Regions from separate parts of the Homo sapiens genome. Here region 1 is linked to region 2. Evidence: promoter capture Hi-C in 16 types of primary human blood cells and fetal thymus (Javierre and others, 2016). All regions are on one chromosome and are shown on one strand. The core of a region is centred on a gene start or on the middle of the fragment in contact, and the rest is flanking DNA. Distances in the headings are between cores, read along the strand shown. Region 1 has its middle 31 kb from the start of TMEM168. Region 2 holds the start of SAMTOR (S-adenosylmethionine sensor upstream of mTORC1).

Region 1 (3,595 bases), core at 976-3,475, 180 kb after region 2:
AGAGCATTTATTAACTACTTCCTTTATTTCCTTTTTTTTTTTTTTTTTGGCTTCTGTAAATACTATTCTTGATTTTTCTGCTGTTTTTCTGGACATTCCTTAGTGTGTTTTGCCAGCTCTTCTTTCTGTACACTATATTTTGGGTTTTCTTGTATTCCTTCTGTGCTCATTCCATCTCCTGCTTTCAGTAATCTCATTCACACCTGGGATTTCAGCTATAACACATTCCACTGATTACTCTCAAACATCTATCTCCAACCTAGACATCTCTGGCACTCCAGGTACATGTATTCAGTCATGTCCTAAACACCTTATTTCACAGGTTCCTCAAACTTAAATTCAAATCAGTAGAGTCTCATCCAAATTGCTTAGTTCCCTCTATTCATGTACATGTGGATGGTACCATTCATGCTTTATTACTCATACGAAAATTTCGGCTTTATCCTTGACTCTCCCTCTTCCTCGTTACCCACATCCCATTAGTCTCTATCTAGTATTTTATATAACCATCCCCTCATCTCCATTCCTACTCCCTTTACCCTATGAAGGCCCTCACCATTCTTTCCACTAGTTATTGTTATAGCTTGTTAACTGTTTTTATTCTCCTGTCTCAAGTCTCATTTTGCTCCAATATAACTTCCATATTTTTGCCAAAACAATCTGTCTATACTCCATATAACTTTCACCATAAAGGATACATTCCTTGTGTTAGCATATCAGGCCTGCCTTCAGAGTCCTTATACATAATTTGTTCTACACACTTGGGTATTGGTAAGGAAAATACAGGATACGGATTTAAATTTGTAATCTACATCCATGTGTATTGATACACGTTCTCTCCTATTTCTCTCCTACCTAATTAGAAGAGGTATTCTTTACAACACCTACCCTTTGGATTCCTCTCTTTCCTTCCTCATGAAACAACTTAATAAAAATGACAATGGCTATTACTTATTGTTCGCTAGGTTCTAACACTGTGGTAAGTACTTCTGTATACTGATTTCATTGCCTTGTGATTAGCCTGTTTCCAAAATCTCTAGCTGTTCCTCATCTCAATCACCTTCCTGTCATTTAGAACTGTTTGTAAATCTCTGAAAATGTTATGTGTTTTTTTAAAACCAGTTCTACGTGGGTTCAAAATACATGCTGGTCTCAAAACATGTTAGTCACAAGTGAAGCAAGGCTCAGCAGGGAGAATAGATCGTGCTGGTGGCATAAATCTGGCATGAAAAATGTTTTCCCATGTTATTTATGAATCACAGGTTTGCATTCAGGAGAGATACTCGAGAGTAGAGAATCATGGACAGTGACTAATGAATATAACAGCTTAACTGACTTTTTATGTTATTGATCCCTACCACAACATGTTGGAGATGGGAGGATCATGGCAGGTAGAGGGGAGAGCCTTACAGCTGGTGGGGAGGTAGGTCTAGAGTGCAAGGCTTGGGCTACATAACTATGTGGCATCACTAAGTATCTCTTTAATCCAAAGGCAGGAACTTGCTTGCCACTCTAGTTTTGCCAAAACATCATAGGAAAACGCTTATTACCCAGGCAGTGCTGCAAAATAGGATCGGAGCTATGAAGTCCAGGGGTGAAGTAAGCAGCCCCCTTGCAAACCATGCACCATTTTGTTTTGTGATTTTTCTTTTTTTGGCCCATTGCAGGTAGTGCTGTTTCAGCAGAGCTGTAAGCAGAGCTGCATGGCCAACATCTGTGAAACAGTAAGAGCGGTCCCCACATGGCCTTCTGTCCTCAAAGTGAGGCTTATCAATTCAGAAAGAGTAGGGATTCTGGAGCTATGCTAGTTAATATGCAGGACTCTTCTCATTCCGTGTTATCCAGTAACTGGTAGAATAGATAGTTCTGCTTCATTACGAATGACACAGTTTCACAGTCAAGGGGCACCACTCCCACCCCCTGAACCTTTGAAGAACTCCATCCTCAGGCCTTGGTTATTCCACACAAAGTCCAGAGAAATGACCTAAACTCCACAGTGAGGGGAACCATGACCTACTCCTACCATCCCCTTCATGGGGTCATCAGCCAGCTCTTTCCCAGCAGAGCCACCAGACCCAAAACTCAGCCCTAGATGCTCAGGAAATCTTTGGGTTTTTTTGAGACACCTGTTTGCATCTTCTGCCAGACTTCAGACTGGAAATGCTTTGTGTTCTGTTGCCCCCTTGAATTTGATGCCTAAGATATCTAGAATTTCTGAAAGAGAATGCTTTGCAGGGTACCAGGCTTCCTGTTACATTTGGAGAGGCAGGCTCAGTAGCTTCAGAAGAGTAAAATGTTTTGTTTACACCAGACCAGAGCTCAGATCTCAGCTCTGAAAGATATGGGCTGAAACAGCTACCTTGGAAGTCACTTTTCAGTCAAAGGATGACATTCTGGCAGTCTGCTGCACTCAAGGGTCCATACTTAGGTTTAGAAGTGACTACTAAAGCTGTAGGTGCAGCCAAGGATGGGATGTGGAGTGAGGGTCTTGGCTGACCTATTGATCACAAATAGAGGGTAACGCTCAGCAGTAAAACCCTGAAATACATCAAGATGTCTGATTTGGTCATAGTGTCAGAATTGGAGAAAAGCTAAAAACTCCAAGGAACTAAACTACTGTCACAGTCCAAAAAAAAAAAAAAAAGAGTAATAACCTAACCTTTTTTTTTTTTTTTTTTTGACAAGTTTATTTAATCCAGTGTGGTAGAAAAGGCACAATTCCAATGTATCATTTACAATTGAATGTTGTTAACCTGGCTTTGTTGTTTGGAAGAACAATCCTCTTGTTAGGGTTAGGTAATTACTCCCTTCCCTTACTCCTGGACAGTGAGAGGGGTCTGACATTGGGATATGGTGTCCCAGGAGCTTAGCTGGTCAGGTGTGTGGAACCCAAAGGAGCAAAGAGCCAAGACAGCCCCTTGGAGAGAGAGAGAAATGAAAACCAAGCAAGCTGTTAAATTGAATATCACTCAGGAGTTAGGTAGAATGAAATAATTCAGCCTTGGGACGACGGGACAAAAACCAGATGAAAGCAATGGGGATTTCGAGATGGCAAAGGGTACAGAGAAGTCACAAGAGCAAGGGAGAAAAGCTGTGCACTTTTTTTGTTTCCTGAAGTAGAGTAGTGCAACTGGTCTGATGAATAATCAGGACTTACAAAGTGTAGTTATAAAGCAACTGTATTTCCCACTGTTCCTTTAAATTTGGTAGGTATGGTTGTTCTGGCAGGTTGACTGAAAATTCAAACTTTCTTTTTTTTTTTTTTTTTCCAGGTTATGTTTTGAAGATACAGTCTCACTGTAGTAATGAGAATGACCATTTCCATGTAAAGGGCAAAGATTCCAACCTCGTCAAAATTACAACTACTCTTAACTCCTCTAGCTGGGGAAGGAAATAGGGATAGCTGCTTCGTTTCTTCTCTTTCTTCTTCAGCTTGCAGTCTTTGACCCCTCAAGGGATGGAAGAGAGGTGGAGGGGAGGAAAGAGGCATAAGGAAGGCAGAAGAGTTTGAACTTCACTAGGGCCATGGTAACCTGGCTCCGGCAGACTGCATCTTCTGATGTTTACAGTGGCATCCTGCACTAATACTGCTGAT
Region 2 (3,647 bases), core at 605-3,104:
ATGACATTATCTGTAATACAAAAAAGCTGGAAAAAACATAAATCTACAATAACTGGGAATTGGTTAATGAAATAGTAGGCTATTCATACAATAGATTGCCACATAGGCATCAAGAAATATCCTATTTGAAATTAGTATATACAAACAAAGAAAAAATGTTAAGTTGTTATCTCTCAGTCCAGATGTCTTATTTTCTTTACTCTTTTCTGTATTTTCCAAATTTCCTTCAGTGAACATCTTCAGTTAAGAGGCCTTAAAAGTTCATTTGCTAGTATTATGCTGAAAAGTTCTTTTTTAAAAAATAAAACTACAGTTCAGCACAAGTGAAATTTAATGCTCTTTTTACTATCATTGTATCTTTCGAATATCTGCACCATTATTTGCCTTCCATATGTATTAAAATATGGAAAGAGCCAAAAGAGACATGTAATTCAAGCTCCCCTTTCTTCCCAAATGAAATTCCCCCAAATAAGACCACCATATTTTCAATTTATTAGGCACTTCCGCTTAACTTCTCTTCATAATTATAAGGAGTTCTTTTGAAGTTTATATGTCCTTGTCTTTGTGTTTGATCTGTCTCTTCACTGTGCTGTAGGGACACATCTTCCGCCTTTAAATTCCATCAATCTCCCTTCACCTCCCGCTTCTCCTGTGTCCTAGACAGTGTGTATAATTCTTTGCTCTTCAGCGTATTCAATATAAAGAAGGTAGCATATAAAACAGTTACATAATGCAAGCTTTATTCGTAGTTAGAAAATCATTATCAAAATGTTACCATTGCAATCATTTCCATAGACTGTCACGTAACCAACACCTGCAATGGGGAAGTGGTACACAATCCAACACAACTCATTAGGGGCTCTCAGTCTATTCAATCTCTGACACTCCAGCAGCCTCAGTACCACTTCAGGAGCCAATGCAGTCTACCTCTCTCCAGAGAGCAGTGTTCCACCTTTCTGGGACAGAAGTCAACAATCGCGTTCCCCAAGAGATGGAAAAGAAGTGGAGGAGGGTGAACAGGTTACCAAACCCACTTAGATACACTCCGCATAGACTAACTCTCCAAATTAAAGGACAGGAGGTCACCTGAGCTGACCATAAAAGCTCAGAGTGCTGATGCGAATAAGATCAGGGAAGGCTGCTTATTAACACCGTGGTCACTACAAAAGTTCTTGAGGGCATCTGCTGTGAGTTTTCCATCGTTCCTTATTGTCCTCCTGCATCTCCTGTTGCTTTTCTTGGCCCTCTCCTTTTCGCATTTTCTATGTCCTTTGCCCAGCAGTAGTACTGCAGGCATAAACCATTGTCGACCTGAGAATTAAATTAGCATTTGGTAGCCAGACCTCTCCTTGAGCCTTAGAATGCTTGTGTGCTTGAGGTCCCTGAAGTGTAACGTCATCTCAAAGCGCAAGTAACTAAAGGGAACCTACATGTGACAAGGTGCAGCGGAGGTTCAAGCAGAGCACCCTGGCCGCATCGCAACAGATTATAAAGTGTAGGGGATGAAAATGATGGAAGACATCAGAAAGCCGAGCTGTAAAAAAGCCCAAACTAAGCAAACTGAGACGCGCAAGCGCGTTGCTCACAGCTCGTCTCCCGAGGCCGAGCCACAGCGCCTGCGCACAGAATCCGGGGAGGGTGGGGAAGAGATGAGCACCCAGGCCTGGAGCTCCCACTGCCTCAGCCTCCCTATCCCCGCAAGCTCCGCCTCCTCCAGCTGCTCGCCTTCCCAAACAACCGGGTTCGCCGCCGGCGCTTTCTGCCCATTGGCCCTTAGCCTTTTCCGTTTCCGCCCAGCCCTCAAAATCCACCAATCAGTTTGCACTTTTGGGTGAGGGTCCACCTCCAAGGCTGTCGCTCCGGTTCCTCTGCCTCCTCTGGCTGCTGCCTCCGCAGCTCCCTCCTCCTACCCCACCTCCTCCATCTGGGGAGCGTCTGCGGGGGCCTGAGGGGCGGCGGCGGCGGCGGCGGCTGCGATATGGAGCCAGGGGCCGGCGGCCGAAATACTGCTCGTGCGCAGAGGGCCGGGTCCCCGAACACTCCGCCGCCCCGGGAGCAGGAGCGGAAACTGGAGCAGGAGAAGCTCTCCGGTGTGGTGAAGAGCGTCCACCGGCGGCTCCGCAAGAAGTACCGAGAAGGTAAACAGCGCGCTGAGTGAGGGAGGAAGGGGAGGCCTCATCACCCCCAACCGCTTGTCACCTCTTCCCTCCTCCAAAGAGGCCACCATTAAAATGTAAAGGATCTGCACGTCCCCCCAGCCGCTGCTGCTCTCCCGGGCCTGGTCTGAGCCCCCTAGTCGGCATCAGACGCGCTCCTCCCCGCCCCCTTTTCTTTGAGGGCCCTTCGGGAGAGTTCTAGGCCTGTAAAGGAATTGAGTCCCCACCCCCTCCAAGCCCCTGTCCCCAGCCGGGGTGCTGAGGTTGTTGTCTCGGCACACACAAACACATACACGCTCACAGAGGAGGTGGGGGTCGCTTTTTGCAAGAGACGCCGAGGTAAAACAAGACAGGTAAAATCCATTTGTAAAAGACGAAAAGAAACCTGAGTTGTCCCTCCTTTACGCTTGACCTACCGGCTGTACCATTTGCTTCCTTATCAGACCCCCTTCCTAGTACTTCATTCCTACAACCATGCCGAGCCTTCCTCGCATTGGCTTCCAGGGCTGGGAAGCCAGCAGGCCTTTTAGCTGACTGGACTTCACATTGTTAAAAGGGGGCGGGCTACACTCGTGGCCCCCACTCCCATTTCTTAAATACTTGGTCTTAACTGTTTATTTAGGCGATGAGGAAGAGATCTGGGCAGGTTCTGAAAATACCGTTTGTATTGGAAGCCTCCTAAAGACACCTGCCGATAAAGCCCACCCTCGGCTTCCATGGATGGGGTTCCGGTGAGAACCCCCTCTGTGGAAGCTCATAGGGGAAGAAGCCTTAGTGGCTTTTGCCTGTGCCTGAAGAGTGTTTATAGTTGGAGTCTACAGTTATCCTTGATATCTTTAAATATAGGCTTTTGTACACAGCTGTTTTATAAGATTTTGACAGTGAAAATTCTGTTTTCATAGGCTTGGGAGAGAGACTTCTCCTGAGTATCGAAATGAGGAAAGCTTTCCACTGGTTCTCATTTTAGCTTAATTGCAAACTGAAAAGTCAGCAGCCTTCTGGTGTTAGTCCTATACTTAGTTAATAATTTAGGATTAGAAGGAAAATTATGGCAGTGAAGGAATACAGACAGGTAAGATCATGTTACTGTTGATTTATACACACGTTTCAACTACTCTAGAAAGTTAAAACTAAGTATCCTTTGTTCTTTTGAATGTAGTTGATATGTTTCATTTTTCAAACTTTAAAGGTTTCTTTCCTTAGCAAATCAAGCTTAGCTTTTAATAGAGGCTGTTTAATCATCCCCAAATGGGGCTTGTAGTTATTGTTTAACAGATAGCAATAGAAAGAGTCTTATCAGACCTACTTAGGATGGTAAAATATGTTTTTTGAAAGAATGCTACCCAAACCCACAATTTAGTCAATAAAATGAGTAGTTACCATAGCAACAACTGCATCATTCTTGATATTCAAAGAATGCTCTTACATAATGGAATTCACTGTAGATTTTATGTTATTTGGAGAGATTAGGAAATAAATGGACACATTTTC

The links. Contacts are between HindIII fragments. The CHiCAGO score rates a contact against its expected background, and 5 or more counts as called.
Region 1: a fragment that was not itself captured here is called in contact with the fragment with the promoter of SAMTOR in region 2 in 1 of 17 cell types (total CD8 T cells); the score reaches 5.2 in total CD8 T cells.

Annotation. Positions count from the first base shown.
Region 1 is chr7:112,757,759-112,761,353 of GRCh38, reverse strand. No RefSeq gene overlaps it. Among named protein-coding and RNA genes, the nearest start is that of TMEM168, 31 kb to the left of the region's middle. The HindIII fragment of the contact is 6,868 bases long and covers 1-3,595 here.
Region 2 is chr7:112,938,082-112,941,728 of GRCh38, reverse strand. It overlaps SAMTOR (S-adenosylmethionine sensor upstream of mTORC1), which reads left to right and starts at 1,854. Exons shown (of 5, transcript NM_152556.3): 1 at 1,854-2,138. The coding sequence starts at 1,979. RefSeq lists enhancers at 1,386-1,725, 1,380-1,896 and a silencer at 1,926-2,025. The HindIII fragment of the contact is 2,363 bases long and covers 740-3,102 here.